Linked DNA regions of Homo sapiens: regions 1, 2, 3, 4 and 6 are each linked to region 5. The links are contacts of gene promoters, found by promoter capture Hi-C in human tissues and cell types (Jung and others, 2019). All regions are on one chromosome and are shown on one strand. The core of a region is centred on a gene start or on the middle of the fragment in contact, and the rest is flanking DNA. Distances in the headings are between cores, read along the strand shown.

The links. The method cuts DNA at HindIII sites, captures the fragments that hold promoters and counts their contacts. A contact is called where the count stands out against the background at its distance.
Region 1: a contact is called between a fragment that was not itself captured here and the fragment with the promoter of CUL9 in region 5, in 1 of the 25 tissues and cell types used here (lymphoblastoid cells).
Region 2: a fragment that was not itself captured here is called in contact with the fragment with the promoter of CUL9 in region 5 in 2 of the 25 tissues and cell types used here (lymphoblastoid cells and spleen).
Region 3: a contact is called between a fragment that was not itself captured here and the fragment with the promoter of CUL9 in region 5, in 1 of the 25 tissues and cell types used here (spleen).
Region 4: a fragment that was not itself captured here is called in contact with the fragment with the promoter of CUL9 in region 5 in 1 of the 25 tissues and cell types used here (mesenchymal stem cells).
Region 6: a contact is called between a fragment that was not itself captured here and the fragment with the promoter of CUL9 in region 5, in 1 of the 25 tissues and cell types used here (dorsolateral prefrontal cortex).

The regions. Positions count from the first base shown.
Region 1 is chr6:43,489,359-43,492,058 of GRCh38, forward strand. All of the region lies in intron 2 of TJAP1 (tight junction associated protein 1), which reads left to right. Among named protein-coding and RNA genes, the nearest start is that of TJAP1, 13 kb to the left of the region's middle. RefSeq lists enhancers at 285-878, 879-1,473. The HindIII fragment of the contact is 8,583 bases long and covers 1-2,700 here.
Region 2 is chr6:42,691,855-42,694,554 of GRCh38, forward strand. UBR2 (ubiquitin protein ligase E3 component n-recognin 2) reads left to right here. Exons shown (of 47, transcript NM_001363705.2): 47 at 1-1,651. Among named protein-coding and RNA genes, the nearest start is that of PRPH2, 29 kb to the right of the region's middle. The HindIII fragment of the contact is 3,806 bases long and covers 1-2,700 here.
Region 3 is chr6:42,851,949-42,854,648 of GRCh38, forward strand. It overlaps BICRAL (BICRA like chromatin remodeling complex associated protein), which reads left to right. Exons shown (of 13, transcript NM_001393499.1): 7 at 144-249; 8 at 1,690-1,790. Among named protein-coding and RNA genes, the nearest start is that of RPL7L1, 26 kb to the right of the region's middle. The HindIII fragment of the contact is 4,425 bases long and covers 1-2,700 here.
Region 4 is chr6:43,531,542-43,534,290 of GRCh38, forward strand. It overlaps XPO5 (exportin 5), which reads right to left. Exons shown (of 32, transcript NM_020750.3): 21 at 2,366-2,466; 22 at 1-34. It also overlaps a transcript of POLR1C not described here. Among named protein-coding and RNA genes, the nearest start is that of POLR1C, 16 kb to the left of the region's middle. RefSeq lists a silencer at 1,761-1,961. The HindIII fragment of the contact is 3,986 bases long and covers 1-2,749 here.
Region 5 is chr6:43,180,822-43,183,521 of GRCh38, forward strand. CUL9 (cullin 9) reads left to right here and starts at 1,375. Exons shown (of 41, transcript NM_015089.4): 1 at 1,375-1,428. It overlaps SRF (serum response factor), which reads left to right. Exons shown (of 7, transcript NM_003131.4): 7 at 1-685. RefSeq lists an enhancer at 1,046-1,115 and silencers at 1,366-1,505, 1,526-1,575. The HindIII fragment of the contact is 4,480 bases long and covers 1-2,700 here.
Region 6 is chr6:42,894,192-42,896,937 of GRCh38, forward strand. No RefSeq gene overlaps it. Among named protein-coding and RNA genes, the nearest start is that of PEX39, 4.7 kb to the left of the region's middle. The HindIII fragment of the contact is 6,847 bases long and covers 1-2,746 here.

The DNA.
Region 1 (2,700 bases), core at 128-2,627, 310 kb after region 5:
GCGGCAGTGTGCAGCCCGTGCTGTTGACTGGCCCAGCTGTAGGCCAGGCACACACTGCCCCATTGTACTGTGCTTTCCGACGCAGCCCTTGTCATAGCCTCTAATCCTTGGGCTGCTTCTCTCCCAGCCCCTCAGAGCCTGTGGGAGGTGGTGGGATGGACTCTGCTGGCACTGGTGCGGGATGGGTTGCAGCTGCAGCTGTGGGTGGCTTTGTTCTTACAGCCTAGCTTTCAGAGTCCTGGTGCAGCCTGGCAGCAGTGTTTGGGGAACAGGCGAGATAGAGGAGCTGAGCCCCTTCTCCAACAGCCGTCCTCTCTTTCTGTTGACCAACCAGAGAGGCTTTTTGCCTGAGGTCAGCAAGCTGGCCTCCCTGGTTGGCAGGGGGAGTGCTTGGCTTCCATCTGGCATGGTTTCCGGATGGGAGAAAGCCCCTGAGGGTCTGGTGGTAAGTCTGCGATGCTTCCCATCAGGAGAGTGCAGTGTGCAGTGTGTCCCCTTGGGCATCCTGCAGCTTGCCATTCCTCTGCTTTCTCTCTGCAGCTCCGGAGTTGGGCTGCTCACAAACCAAGCTGTCTGTTTATATGGAGTGCCTGGAGGGCATCTGCCATGAGTCTGTCGCTAACTGCACTAACCAGGAGAGCTGGCTGGTTGGGGAGAAGACACTAACCCTGTGAGTCTGACCTCAGCCAGCTAACCTGCCCTGGGGTGCCACCAGCAGGGCCTCTGTCCTCCATCCTTCCCCGCAGCCTGGCTGCCTCCCTCCTTAGCTTATATCACGCCATCTCCTCTGCTCTCTTGTTCTTACTACTGCGTCCCTCTATTTTCCCAGTCTCCCTTTGCTGTGGGTGGGGATGTGCCCCCTTCACGGCCACCTGCCCATCACCAGCCTGCTGCTGGGCTCCACTGACCACCCCCCACCGTCACCCTTCCCCGAGTCAGCAGCGTGCTCTTCACTTCTCCCTTCATACAGAATTGGTTCGAGTTTCTGTTGAATCTGTGCTTTTAGCACAGAGTTTGAGAAGATCCCTCAATTACCATGCTGCTGCTGCTTCTCATGCCTCAGAGACAGATGAACTAGAGTGGGAAGGGACTTTTCTCCTAGATCAGATCATTTCCTCCCTTTATCAAGAAGGGAAGGTTGGATAGTGTCCCTGTTACTCTCACCCTAGGATAAGAAGTTAGGATCAGCTGCAAGGTTCTCTTTAGGATTGGGGAGGTAGAGGAAAACCTTGACCTGGTTCTGGGGAATTCCCTGGGCAGAAAAGTGAAGCTACTTAAACTGAATGCTGGGGCCCCAAACCAGGGACCCATGTGAGATGTCACTCCCATTGGTGACCGTTGCTCTGGGAGGTGAAGTTTGTCCCCCCCACCTCTTTTCACATCCGGAGTTTCTGGTGGACTTTAGCCATGAAAAGCTGGGAAGGGTGCCTCAGTAGAGTGGGGGCAGGACCTGGCTTCGGATTCCACACTGGGCTCAGAAAAAGTCCTGGCCTCAGACTGGGAGATGGGTGCGTGCAGCCTGGCTTGGAGAAGCTCCCACGCAGTCCCTTCTCCCTCCAGGCTTGGGAAGGAGAGGCGGGTCTGGAGATCATGAGAAAGTTGATTGCCTGTTGTTTCCTGGTGTTCCACACAGGTCACTCTAGATAGACTGTGGCTTCGGCTTCCGGAGGCAGTGTGGTGCTAGGGAGGCTGGACAGGGGGAGCTTGAGAACAGAAGGCTGCCTAAGTGGATTCTGTTCCCCTTGGGCTGGGTGAGAGAAGGCAGCAGCCTACCAGCACTGGGTGGGAGCTTGTAAATGGGAGAGGGTGTGTTATGGGCCCGGAGCGAGGAGGATAGCACTCCTGAGCGGGATGATGATTTCTCGGAGGTTGATAGATTAAGAGACCAAAGTTGGTGGGGGATATCCATGTTGACCAGAAATATCTGTTTGTTTTTTTGGGTTTTTTTTGAGACAGAGTTTCGCTCTTGTTGCCCAGGCTGGAGTGCAATGGCACGATCTCGGCTTTCTGCAACCTCCGCCTCCCAGGTTTAAGCGATTCTCTTACCTCAGCCTCCCGAGTAGCTGGGATTACAGGCATGCGCCACCACGCCCGGCTCATTTTGTATTTTTAGTAGAGACGGGGTTTCTCCATGTTAGTCAGGCTGGTCTCGAACTCCCGACCTCAGGTGATCTGCCCGCCTTGGCCTCCCAAAGTGTTGGGATTACAGGTATGAGCCACTGTGCCTGGCCCGATGAGAAATATCTTGATGAAAATGCACTACGTCCAATAAATGAATATATGTACTATGCAATATTAAGGATTTATAGTACTGATCAATATCCATGTGGAAATGAATTTTATTATATGATTAATAATAGTGAATGTATGATAGTTGATTAAGGAATAAACAATACCTATTTATATGCATGTGGATTGAGCTTATAATGTATTATATATGAGTGTACTATGTACAAATAAACATTTATAGTACTATATATTATTCATGGGGACTAGCAGTAATGCAGAGATGTTTAGGGACCCCAAATGGGGAGTTAACAAGCTGGAGGCTTTCTTGACTTGGCTCTGACCAGGAAAGCAAAAGGGCCTGGAGTTGAGGCCTGGTTGAGGGCCGGTCCTTCACTTTGGCCTTTCTTAGGAGAGGGCATGGGGTCTAATGTCAAATGCAGGCTATGACCTTGGGGATTTCTTGCCCTCTTT
Region 2 (2,700 bases), core at 87-2,586, 490 kb before region 5:
AAACTTAGGATGGTCTAAAAAATTAGGATATTCTTTTAGAATTAGGAAGAAAAATTAGGATATTCTAAAAGAATATGGATTAAAAATTTAGGATATTCTTTTAGATATCCTAATATCTAGATGAGAGGCCTTCCTTCATAAGATCTGGTTGTTTGGGCTGTGGTTGGCATAAGTGATATTTATTTTGGCCTCTGTCACATCCAGTTTCTTGAGCTTTTAAGGTAAGCTTCTTTTGGCTTTTTTTCAGATGTTCACCAAGCTTAAGTTTAAAATAATAGGTATTCTAAAAGAGTATCCTAATTTTCTTATCTGTATTCTTTTAGAATACCCTAATGTTTCAGACAGTGATATTCTCTTGTTATTTCTAAGGCTAAATTGGCAGAGTATATCATCTAAAGCCAAACACTGAAGAAGGTGAGAACCCACTCCCACCCAGCCAGCATTTCCTGGAACAGACAAGCTGCTGCTTCCTTGCTGGCTCACTTAGTGCATTCCTGGGATGGTCTGGCACCCAGGCTTTTTATTCTTTTTGATCATTGTTCTTACTGAGGTGCCTTCCTAGAACAAGAGCCACTTACAAAATAGCTTATAATTATTATGTACCACACAACTACTATTGTTTGATGTATGACTGCTGAGAGCTTGAATACATGCAGAGAGTGACTGAAGACTTAGTAGAGGAATAAATTCTGAGCCTGTCTAAGGTGGGGCTAAGGAACAGATGAGTAATAAGAGGCTCTTGGATTTTTTTAACCAATGCAACTGACCCTTTCAATCAGTTTTCTTTGAATTACATCTACAAGTTTTGTTCCACTCAGCTACCAGTCAACTAGGCATGCTCCACAGTATCACAGGAAGAAGGTCAGAAATCTGGAACTGAAGCTAAAAGAAGTGAGGATGTAGAAGCCACATTCCTCTCCAAGGTAGTGTGTGAAAGAACCGCCCCCTCTTGACAGGAGGATGACCGTCGCCATTCTTGCGTGGGACTGACTCACCCAGCTGAGAGGAGGACCAATAGAAAGAAAATTCACATTTGAGTCCACCTCTCTCCCCCTTTTTCTGGCCTTCATTCATAAGATCTGGTTGTTTGGGCTGTAGGTGGCATAATTCATGTTTATTTTGGCCTCTGTCACATCCAGTTTCTTTAGCTTTTAAGGTAAGCTTCTTTTGGCTTTTTTTCATATGTTCACCAAGCTAAAATTTAAAATAATAAGACCAGGTTTCTCTCTGTACAAGTGGATTATAAACATTTTCACCAAATCATAACAATACTCCAGCTTTCCGGTCCGACTTCCTAGGAGCCTGGAGTTAGCAAAGGTTGTCTCTGGATTTCATTCTCTGAGAATATCACAGAGCCTGGGAGAAGATGAATTTACATGAAATTGCAACATACACACCTTTTTATTTTCTGGTGTTAAGCTAGTTGTCTTTCCTACCTTACAAATCATGTTAGTTTTATGATTTGTTCCGCATGTTTTATGTTTATTGTAGAAATGTTTATATAACATACGCTTTCCATATCAGGGAAAATCATATCTGTTTAATAAATTGGCTATAACTTTAATATCTGTGGACAACTTGTAAAATTTGGAATGTATCATATGTAAAAAGTTTAAAGATATCCAAATAAATGCTTTAGGTGTTGGCATTACTTTTGGTTAGCATATATCTTTCTGTTTCATTTTACACATTTACCTGCCACAGCAAGGTGCCCGTGTCACCTTGCTACAAATATAGTGGGATATCTGTATTAGCTTTAAATTTAAGAGGGTTATATTATTATGGCCACTAGCCAAACTATCTTGACCTTCTCAGAGAAAGTGTGATCATCATTTCAGCTGATTAAGTTTCATATTCATTAGCCATGACAGCGTGTGACCTTTGTGGACCATTTTGGAACTCAAATCACTGGGAAACAGGGCACTCCAAGACCTGTGTCTGGGTTTAAACTCTTGTTCATCCTTACCTGGTGATCTCAAGGTCCTTGTCCTTACACACTCCCCTAGTGTGCTGGCTGGTTTTTCAGGGCTGTTGGAGGTTTTTTTTTTCTTTTTTTTATGACCACTTCCTGCTTTTGAGAGAGAGACATAGAAAGGCAGCTACACTGTCTTCCTAGGGGAGTCATTGCCCATGAGAATTCTGTTTTTTTTGAAATCCTCTTGAGAGCATCAAACTAAAACAGCAAGGTTTCCATTGCACTCACCCTGCCTCCTGGTCAGTAACACTGCTCCCAGCCTACTGCCTTCACCACTCTTGTCTTTAGTTCCAGGAACTCATGAAGCCCCTTCTGACATGCTCCTCCCTGTCTTCCTACTCTTGATTTTGGTGTGGTGGTGGTTTGGTTTGGTTTTTTTAAAGAGACAGGGTCTTGCTTTGTCCCACAGGCTGGAGTGCAGTGGCACAGCCTTGGTTCACTGCAGCCTCAACCTTCTGGGCTCGAGCAATCCTCCCACCTCAGCCTCCCAGTAGCTGGTACTATAGAGGCACATGCCACCACACCTGGCTAATTTTTGTATTTTTTTTGTAGATACAGCCGCGCTATGTTGCCCAGGCTGGTCTTGAACCCTTGGGCTCAAATGATTCTCCCGCCTCAGCCTCCCAAATGCTAGGATTATAGGTGTGAACCACTGTGCCTGGCCTGTTCCTACTCTTGTTTTTTAAGTCACATTTATTGAGGTATATTTTACAAACAGATTAACT
Region 3 (2,700 bases), core at 73-2,572, 330 kb before region 5:
AATACAATTATTAAATTTTTGGTTTGTTTATAATCTAACCTGAAGGTACCAGGGAGGCATGAAGAGGCTTGGTTGGTATTTAAAATAATCTGTTAAAGCTTTAGAAATGAAATTAATGTTTTCATCTTTGTCATGTTTCACAGGCTCAGAAAAAATGTCTGAATCAGACTTCCCCCATTTCTGCTCCCAAGACCACAGACGGCCTGAGGCAAGCACAGATCCCTGGGCTCTTGAGCACCACACTGCCAGGTCAGGAGCTTCCTCAGTTTGTCCCTGTCCTCCCAACACCACGGGATGCTCTTCTCACTTTTCTCCCTCATTCTGCACGAAAGCTTTCTGGCTTAATCTCGTCTCCACTCCGATTATTCCTTTCTTTCTGTATCCTTTCCGCAAATAATATACTGTGTTGCATCAACTCTAAGATAGCATTGGGCCGGGCACGGTGGCTCACGCCTGTAATGCCAGCACTTTGGGAGGCCAAGGAGAGTGGATCACCTGAGATCAGGAGTTCAAGACCAGCCCGACCAACATGATGAAACCCCATCTCTACTAAAAATACAAAAATTAGCCAGGCATGGTGGCACACGCCCGTAATCCCAGCTACTCAGGAGGCTGAGGCAGGAGAATCGCTTGAACCCGGGAGGCAGAGCTTGCAGTGAGCTGAGATCACACCACTGCATTCCAGTCTGGGTGACAGGGCGAGACTCTGTCTCAAAAAAAAAAAAAAAAAACCCCACTAAGATAGCATCAATTGTAAGATGTACTATCATTTTTTATACTACCAAAAAGAAAAACAAGCACTTCTATCTAAATTATGACACATTAAATTATGTGGAAAAAAAATACTTCTTAGAAACAATAAATTGAGGCCGGGCACGGTGGCTCACACCTGTAATCCCAGCACTTTGGGAGGCCGAGGCGGGCAGATCATGAGGTCAGGAGATCAAGACCAGCCTGGCCAACATGGTGAAACCCTGTCTGTACTAGCTGGGCATTGTCCTAGCTACCCAGGAGGCTGAGGCAGGAGGATCACCTGAGCCTGGGAGGTCGAGGCTGCAGTGAGCTATGATTGCGCCACTGCACTCCAGCCTGGGCGACAGAACAAGACCTTGTCTCAAAAAAAAAAAAAAAAAAGAAAAGGTATTTTACAGTACTTGTGACTTTGAAATTATCCCCATGTTGCTCTCTACATGCATGTTTGGAATTCTCCACCCAGACTGAAAATATTATGGACTATGTCTTCCGTTTTTTCTAAGGCTTTGAACATCTGCAGTACCCAATTAGTACTTAAAAAAAAAAAGGCAAGAAAGAGAAAAAGCTTGAATATTCCCAGTCAATTGCCTCTTTGGGCCTCCCTTTCCTTAAATTGTATTTTGGGATTCTGTAGTGCTGACAGATTACTGGCTTGAGGCCTGTTTTTCAGACTATAAATAATTTGAAACTATAGCATTTGGAGCTTCTATTTATTACTATTTACTTATTTATTACTTAAATAGGCTTTAATAACCTCTTCCTTTAGAGCTTGTAAGTAAATGCACTACCCTGCCCTCCTTCTTCACAGCAAGCAGCCATGATAAAGAAACCCGTTTCAGAATGCTCAACAGTCTGTACCCATTGGGTTCTAGGGTTATATGATGGACCCAATTTACTGTTTCTTTTGAACACTGTCTCATGTATTAATTCTAATAGGGCAGGATTCTGGAAGCAAAGTTATATCCGCATCCTTAGGAACCGCACAACCACAGCAGGAAAAAGTAGTTGGATCATCTCCTGGCCATCCAGCTGTGCAGGTAGAAAACTATTGGCATAGCCTCTTCCTAATGTTCGGCATAATTGAATGAAAATGTAGTCGTGCTATCTTTGTGGTTGCTGGCTAGCTTTGTGTGCACAGTCCACCCAGTCCCCTGTGTGCCCACAACAGGGTGGTCATTGAAGACCTTCCTGGTGGGCTGGGCCTTGTTATGTTTATGTTTCTGAGATGAATGTCTATTCTATTTCTGACATGTTTACAGTGCTTCATTAATCCATCATTTCCTCATGAATTAGTAATATACCAGCAGCTAGTACATACTAGGCACTCAAAAAATGTCATTTACTACTAGGTGATATCGTTCACTATTATATCAAAGCGAATCTCTTCTTCTTAGTTATACTGAGGGATTTTTGTTTTTCTGTAGTAGTAACCAGGCGTATAGGAAGTAGGCCATCCCTACGGTCTTTTGACCCAACTTTGACACTTTTTAAAGTCCAACTTTTTGGTTTTTGTTTGAGACAGGGTCTCACTCTGTCACCCAGGCTGGCATGCAGTAGTGCAATCACAGCTTACTGCAGCCTTGACCTCCCAGGCTCAGGTGACCCTCCTGCCTCAGCCTTCTGGGTAGCTAGGACAATGCCCAGCTGTTTTTTTGTATTTTTTGTAGAGATAGGATTTTGCCATGTTGCTCACACCTGTCTCAAACTCCTGGGCCCAAGCCATCCACCCACCTCAGCCTCCCAAAGTACCTGGATTACAGGTGTGAGCCACTGTGCCCTGTCTAGTCCAGCTGGGTTTTTTGTTTTGTTTTTGTTTTTGTTTTTGTTTTGTTTTGAGTTGGGGTCTCACCCTGTCACTCAGACTGTGCTGCAGTGGTGTGATCACAGCTCACTGAAGCCTCGATCACCTGGGCTCATGCGATCCTCCCACCTCAGCTTCCTGAGTAG
Region 4 (2,749 bases), core at 170-2,669, 350 kb after region 5:
GAGTCATTGAGTTCCAAGAGAGGTTGAGGTAATCCTACAGGGAAATACGGGTCAAGAACATGATGCTCCACTGTCAGGAGTCTCAATTGGCCAACACTCTACAGCAGGAAGCTGTTGTTCAGGGGTGAAGATGTGTGCATGTCTGGTGCTGTACTGCAAAGCAGTTGGCTACGTGATTTGCTGCACTCTTTTGGTAGGAGAAGGTGAAAGCTACTTAAGGACCCAGGACTTTAGACCCGGGTACTCTTTTATCTGCTTTTTTTTTTCCCCCAGATGGAACCTGTACCAAAAAAAGTGACAACTCAAAAGTATTTTTCCATAAAGCTCTGGGGATGCTCCCACAATTAAGTTATGAAACCCCTTTTTTAAGCAAAATCTTACACAAAACACTAAGATGTGTAGCAGCTAAAAATGAAACCCACTTACCTTAGTATTAAAAACTGCCTTAAAATATCTATATTTTTAAGTGTAATCAGAGGTTTTACATTTCGAGTCCTATAGTCAGAAGCTATCTGTGGGAACTGTTTGTCCATTCTAGTATTTCTGGTTGGCCACTTATTTCTATAGCAGGAGTTCCTGACTTAACTTGAATAATGGCATGGGGGTGTGTGGTAAGCAACACCTACTTTTTATATTAATAGCTATACATTTCTTGGAATTTCTACTTTTACTGGTGTCTGCAACATAACCCTTAAATGGAATGGTGTCAAAGGAAAAGATTCAGGACTATCTAGGCTGAAACAGACAGACATGAGTTCTGGAAAGGCAAATTAACATCCTTCCTTTGGCTAACTTCACAGCTGAGGAATGCCATTGGATTGCTTGACCACAGCCGGGCTCAGACACAGGTTATAGCTGATGACAAAGACAAACTATGGGGGCTGTGATGGTGAGCCAGCCTGAAGCTTCTGAGATGGGAACAAGGTTTAGACAACTGATGCCTCTAGCTCTAACTTCATCCCACATTCCCAGACTAGCTCCCTGTGCTCCAGCCACATGATTCAACCATCTCTATGTTCTGGACATACCAAGGCCTTTTTCTCTTGCCTCAGATCTTATACCTGCCATTCTGTTTGTCCAGAATGCCCAGCATTTCCTCATGCCCCTAACCTAGCTAGTTCGTACTCATCCTTCAAGTCCCCATTGGGAGTCAGCCTTCTGACTTCCCTCTGAGACTGGGTTAGGTCTCCCGATAAACACTCAGAGCCCTGCCACTTTCCTTCACAGCAAATACCACAATTATGACTGCACAGTTATTTTCATGCTTATTTTCAATGGGAAAATGAATTAAAGCAGTATCCTAACAAGGTCACAACTGGAAGGCCAGGCGTGGTGGCTCATGCCTATAATCCTGGCACTTTGGGAGGCCAAGGCAGGCAGAGCACTTGAGGTCATGAGTTCGAGACCAGCCTAGCCAACATGGTGAAACCCTGTCTCTACTAAAAATACAAAAAATTAGCCGGGTGTGATGGTGCATGCCTGTAGTCCCAGCAGGCTGTGGGAGAATCACTTGAACCTGGAAGGCAGAGGTTGCAGTGAGCTGAGATTGCACCACTGTACACCAGCCTGGGTGACAGAGTGAGACTCTCTCAAGAAAACAAAACAAAACAAAAAAGGTAACAATTGGGAAATGGCTTAAAATCTATTCCTTTAAAAACTTTGATACCTATCTACACACACACACACACACACACACACACACACACACACACACACACACACGAGGAGGCAGGAAAGTATACAAATATCCTTCAGGTTAAAGGCCATGATTTATTTATAATTGAATGGCTGTAACACCCACCACAACCTACTGGCTAAATTGAAGAAGGGGTTAACGGGGAAAAAAAATAAATTGCCTTCGATTTTCTCTGTATGCTAAGATAATGAAGTAAATACACTTGTTCATATAGAGCTTATAGGAACTCCACATTCTGCATTTCTGAACAAATAGATGGTCAAGGCAGTGCAAGACAAGATGGAAGAAGCACAAGATAGGCTGAAGCTGCTCAAGGAACCCATAAGAACGCCTGTAATCACTAGGATTCTAGTGCTTTAAAGGCCATGGTGGGAGGACTGCTTGATGATAAGAGTTCAAGACCAGCCTGGGCAACATAGCAAGACTCTGTCTCAACAAAAAAATTTTAAAGTTCGTCTGGCGTTGTGATCTGCCTGTGGTCCAACTACTCGGGAGGCTGAGGCAGGAAGACTGCTTGAGTCCAAGAGTTTGAGCCTACAGTGAGCTATGGTTGCACCAGTGCACTCTAGCCTGGGTGACAGAGACTATGACTCTTAAAAAACAACAAAAAAAGGGGACATCCATTAGGGATAAGATAAACCTTAGGAGAAAAAAGGTTACATTTCTTACCTAATATAGCAGATTTTTCCGCGTCAAGCATATCCAGAGCCTTGGTGAAAGGCTCTGCCATTTTGGCTAGCATTTCTGGTGCATATAATGTATTGTGGGTTCTGAAAGAAACAAGAATGCTATTGAGCTTTTCCATCTGATGCAGAAGGAAAGAGTGGGTTTTGCTTGTAATCCAGTGATACTACAGTTTCACACAGATCTGCCCATCAACTCCTGGCAGGGGAAAGAAAAGAAGGTATAAATATCTGAATGCTCGCTGGAGGAGGGAACAGACTTGTATAGATATAATTATCTTAGTATACAATACCTAAGATAAATTAACATGAGAACTAAACCCCAAGACACAGGACAGTATCAGAGTCCAAAGCTAGAAAGCAAAATTCT
Region 5 (2,700 bases), core at 125-2,624:
AAGATTTTATGCACAGCCTAGTTATCAAGGGGATGATTTGCCGACATGTTTGAGAACCCCCTAACCTCTAACCCTCATTGCTGTCTTGCCCCAGTTTGGGGTGCCAAGATGGAAGTCACCTTTCTGGGCTTTCTCCTGGAGATAGCTGGGGCTTATGGGTGGCTTTCAAGGCTGGGGCATGGCAAATCAGGGGCCAGAGAGCAGGGGAGCTTGGGACTCAGGTCTGTAACTGCCCAGCCCCTTTTCTCTGCTCTTGTTTCACTCCACCATCACTCACTCACTCCCCACTCCCCCACCCATGGGGAGGAGACCTTTGATGAATTCTTCCTCTCCTTCCCACAAAAGACAGACCCAGTGAGTGAATCAGGCAAAGTGCTTATAATGTGTGTTGTGTGAGCGTGGCCTTGGGAGGACATGCGTGTGTCAGGGATGAGTTGAGGTGATATTTTTATGTGCAGCGACCCTTGGTGTTTCCCTTCCTCGGTGGCTCTGGGGTATGTGTGTGTGGGTGTGTGCGCCTGAGTGAGTGTGTGTGCTTGAATGTGAGTGTGTATGTCAGTGGTTTCTACTTCCCCTGGGATGCTGACCCAGGAATAGTGGACATGGTCACAGTCCTATGTACAGAGCTTTCTTTTGTATTAAAAAAAAATACTCTTTCAATAAATGTATCATTTTTGTGCACAGACTGTGGGGTCTTTGGTTCTGTTTTTCTACTTAGGGAGGGATGGGGGTATGAACGCGAGGCAAACTCCTAAAATTGCTGCTCTGAGTAGCGATCCGGGCTGCTTGATGAGAACGGTAATGCTAAGGTGTGCTTTGGGCTGTTTAATTCTATACGATTTAATTTAAGGAAAGTTTTGCGGGGCCGAGGACCTTCTCCCTGTGCGTGGCTTCGCTAGGTGTTAAGGCCAACGCAGAGGAGCAAATTTTAATTAACAGGAAAAGTGACACAACTAATCCAAAGCATTGCTGAAGGGTTTGGGAAACTCATGGGCACCTGACCTACTGAAAAGTCAAAAAGGGCAGCCTTAAGGTGGGAATGTGGGTTACCATGTTTCGTCAGCATGATCGCTGTGATGGGAGAGGGAGGATTAGGAGGGCCGACCCAGTGAAGAGGAGGGGGCTTCACAGTTGACTGGATGGAAACGGCTTCTTCCTGCTGCTGAGAGAGGAGCAACGTGACCTCGATCCCAGGCTCCTCCGGTAGCGCGCCCCCACGCCCCTCTTCCAGTGCAGCCGCCCGCGGTAGCACGCATGCTCCACTCGCGCGCTGTTCCGCCACGCTCGGCGTGGGCCGCGGTGGGACCCGTAGGTGCCCGGCCGTGCGTGCACTCGCCGTGTGACCCGGAAGGGAGCTCTGAGGAGGCGGGGCCAGGACGGCGGGACCGGCCGCTGGGTCCCAGCGAGGGCTGAGCCGGGCGGTGGGAGGTGAGAGGAGAGTTCTGCGCCGACCCAATCCCTCCCCTTCTCCTGTCCCCTCCCCGGTCCTTTAGCCACTGTCCATGGGGCTGACGAAGGGAACCAGGTCTTGCTCTCTGAGATTCACTGGATCTTTTCAGCTTTTTTGGACCGCGCCCCCAACCATCCTTCCCCCTCCCCCCAAACCCGTTCCCTCTGCGGTGCTGGCCTCCTCCACCTCCCCACGGCTCTGCAAGCTTGGGCTTGACCTTGCTATCTGCTGGTCTCATCCATGCGTCCAGAGCTCACCCCCACACCTCAGTTTATTGTTGCTCTTCTAGGCCGACGTTACACCTCCTACCTCCTCCTATCCGATTCTTTTACTTCCCCCTGCTGCTAATCAGTTGCCCGCTGGCACATCGCTGGCTACCATCCAGGCTTGCCCCCCATCCTAAGTGGACCCCTACCTCCATTGAGGTCCACATCCATCTTTCTCCCTCCTCTTCACCTCTACTCTCATCTTCTGTCCCTGTACCCCAACATGACCCCTGCCCTGACCACTATATCTTCATCTGGGTTTACCTTCTTCCATTCTTATTCTCACTATTCCCTGTTGCCCCTGCACTGCTTCATATCACGCATATCTTTCCTGATTATTCCACTCCCATTTATAATCGGTCTTAATAACTTTGCATTTATTTGATGACTCCCCTACCTTCTCCATCTAAGAATAATAACAGATTATGTTTACTGAACACTCTTTATGTGCTAGATGCTGTTCCAAGTGCTTTACATACATGATCCTACTAAATTCATGAAGTAACTATGAATATTACTACCATCTTGCAGAAGAGGAAACAAGCTCAGAGGTTAAGTAACTTGTTCCAAACTATGCAGACAGTGAGACAGAAAGCCAGAATTCAGAGTCACATTTATCTGATACTGAAGTCTCTGAATATTGCTTCTCTCCTGACCTCATTTCCTACCTTTAACCCCATGATTACCACCTCTATCTTATCTACTTAACTTACTTAAATCCTTACCATACATGCAGTATAAGGGCAGGGTGGGACCTGGTCATCTTTCCCATAATTTTATCTGGTCCCTAGGGCCCTCCCCCTTTCACAAGACTCGAATATACTTTTCCTATCCAGTCATTTGCCCCAACATCCCAGCCTTTTGTCATCTCCATTCTCTATATCTGCCATGGCCCACCCTTTACATCCACCTTGCAGCTTTACTCTGTCATTTATGCTCCCTGTCCTGCCCCTCCGCTATCCTACTTTTCCTCACATGTTCTGA
Region 6 (2,746 bases), core at 236-2,735, 290 kb before region 5:
CTTATCTCAACCGCAAGAGGCCTTCCTCTTTTACTAATCCTCCTCAGCACAGACCCTTCACGGGTGTCGGGCTGGGGGATGGTCAGGTCTTTCCCGTCCCACGAGGCCATACCTCAGGCTGTCTCAGTGGGGAGAAACCTTGGACAATACCTGGCTTTCCTGGGCAGAGGTCCCTGTGGCTTTCTGCAGTGCATTGTGCCCCTGGTTAATCGAGAATGGAGAATGGCGATGACTTTTACCAAGCATACTGCCTGTAAACATTTTGTTAACAAGGCACATCCTGCACAGCCCTAGATCCCTTAAACCTTGATTCCATACAACACATATTTCCGTGAGCACAAGGTTGGGGCTAAAGTTACATATTAACAGCATCTCAAGGCAAAACAATTGTTCAGGGTACAGATCAAAATGGAGTTTCTTATGTCTTCCTTTTCTATGTAGACACAGTAACAGTCGGATCTCTCTTTTCCCTACATATCCCCCTTTTTGACAAAACTGCCATCGTCGTTATGGCCCGTTCTTGCTGGTCGCTGTCTCTTCGGAGCTGGTGGATACACCTGTGGACTAACAACAGACAGAACAGGCATACAAGGATTAATATGAAATTTACAATAGTGGAACTTCTGATGGTTTTTAACCAAGTGACAGTGTTAAGATTTGTGAGGCCATCAGTAGCTTTCACGATTGCCTCAGTTCCCAAATTTAAATGGGCTTTCGATGCCTCAAAATTTTGTTATTTTAATTTTGAAATATCTAAAGTAAGATTATCTTCTCTTCCCTGTAGATGGCATCTAACCATGTCCCAGTGATGCTCAGACTCATTATAGGCTTGGGGTGTAATACAAAAATCTGACATATTCCAGTCACACTGTAACTGAAAAAGATATTCCAAGCTCATGAGCCTATTTCCCAGCCAAATGACAGTTTGTCTAAGATCATTAATTTCGTTTGCCAATTTTTGATTTATTTGGGTCTGAGAATTCCACAATTTTGAGGAATTCTTTCGCCAATCATTTACATATTCTGCAGTTTGAACAGAGGAGTGTAAAGCAATTCCAGCAGCTGCAGCAGTAGCTGTGACTGCAATAAGGCCCATAATCACTGCAATCAAAGTAAAAATCTTTTGGATCTAGTTAGAATTCCTTTTAATACTTCCGTTAAAATATGGAAGATGGCGAAGCCTCCCACTGTCGGTCCATGGACACAGGGATCCGCACACCTTCTCTTGCCCTCACTAGCAGAATATGGCGCTGCCAATTAAAAGTCAAATCAATGCAAGTAAACAATCTACAGTTTTCACAGGTTATAGTTTGGGAATCTGGTTTAATAACTATGTTTTCTATAACTAGCATATAAGGGGGTTTTACACAACTTTGTAAAGGAATTGTCAGATTGGAATTTAGGTTGATAGTATAATATGGCTTACGATTTCTTGTTTCTGTAGCTTGATTTCCAGACCAAATTCTAATGTAGTGCGAGGCCACAGTAAGCTTCCATAATTTTGGATGTTTAGGACCAGTAACAGGACTAACTAACTTTGGTCGAGGTGATGAAATTCCCTTTTCACCCCATTTCCAGGGATAGGGTGATTCTAGCCTTCTATAAACCTGGTCCAGCCTTTCAATTAAATCACTATCATAGGCCGGATTAATGGGCCAGATGGATGGGGCCTGTAAACATGAGTGAGTCTGGCCCATACAATTATATATAATATAATTGTATATAATATAATATAATATATAACTATTATATAATATTATAGTAGTTCCAAATTCATTGTTTTGTAATACCACCGCAGTATTAGCCACACATTCTTCCCAAACTAAGGCTTCTGGGCTTTTTGATTCTTTGGGAATTTCCTTGGGGCAAGGCTTCCCCTTAGGCCCAGATTTTAATGATCTTTGATAAGAAGCGTCCTCTAAATTATTTATCTGTGGCCCGAGTGACATTCCACTTACCATGTGATAAGTAAATTTACTGGTGGCACTGACGGTAGGTACTTCTACCAACCAGTTTTGGGTTGTAGGCATTAAACATCCTGGTGCCTTCCCTAGGCAAATAGGAGGATAATGATACCCAGTGGAAACATTTATCATCATTCCTTCTTCTTTAGGTTGGGCAGGGCAACAATCGTCTGTGGGGCCTGGTACCCATGCCCTATTATTAACATATACTTCAACAGGATTATCCATCCATGTGACTGCCCAAATTAAGGGTGGGAAAGGCACATAGGCACAGTAAGTATAATTAGTTGCAGCTGCTCCTGCAGACATGGGGAGACTTACTACCGTTGATATAATAATCAAAGCTGTAAGCAGTATATTCTCTGGAGTTCACATTACCCTTGTGTTCTTTAGGCTTTTTTTAGCTAACTGTGTCAGCTTCTTTAATTGGGCCCAAGTCGGTGGCTCCGCTTCCTTGGTGGATGGCAACTTCATCTGTTCTTCTGATATCACCATTTTATTTACCTGGCGAGTCGATGATGCTCAATTGAGGGTTTTTTGTCTCCGCAGAGGCGCTTTTCTTCGCATCTCCAAGGGGTTCATTGTAGAACTTTAAATTTCTAGTGGGTATCCAACCAGGAAGCTGATTTTCTCCTTGTGAAACACAAGCAAAGCCTCTCTCCCATGTTATCACCTTCCCTATTTCCCATGTCTTATTTTTCTTGTCTTTCCACCAAATCAGTTTTCCTTCATGTGGGCTATTCTTTTTACCAGTAAAATGTTGTTCTGCAGAAGTAGTGGTT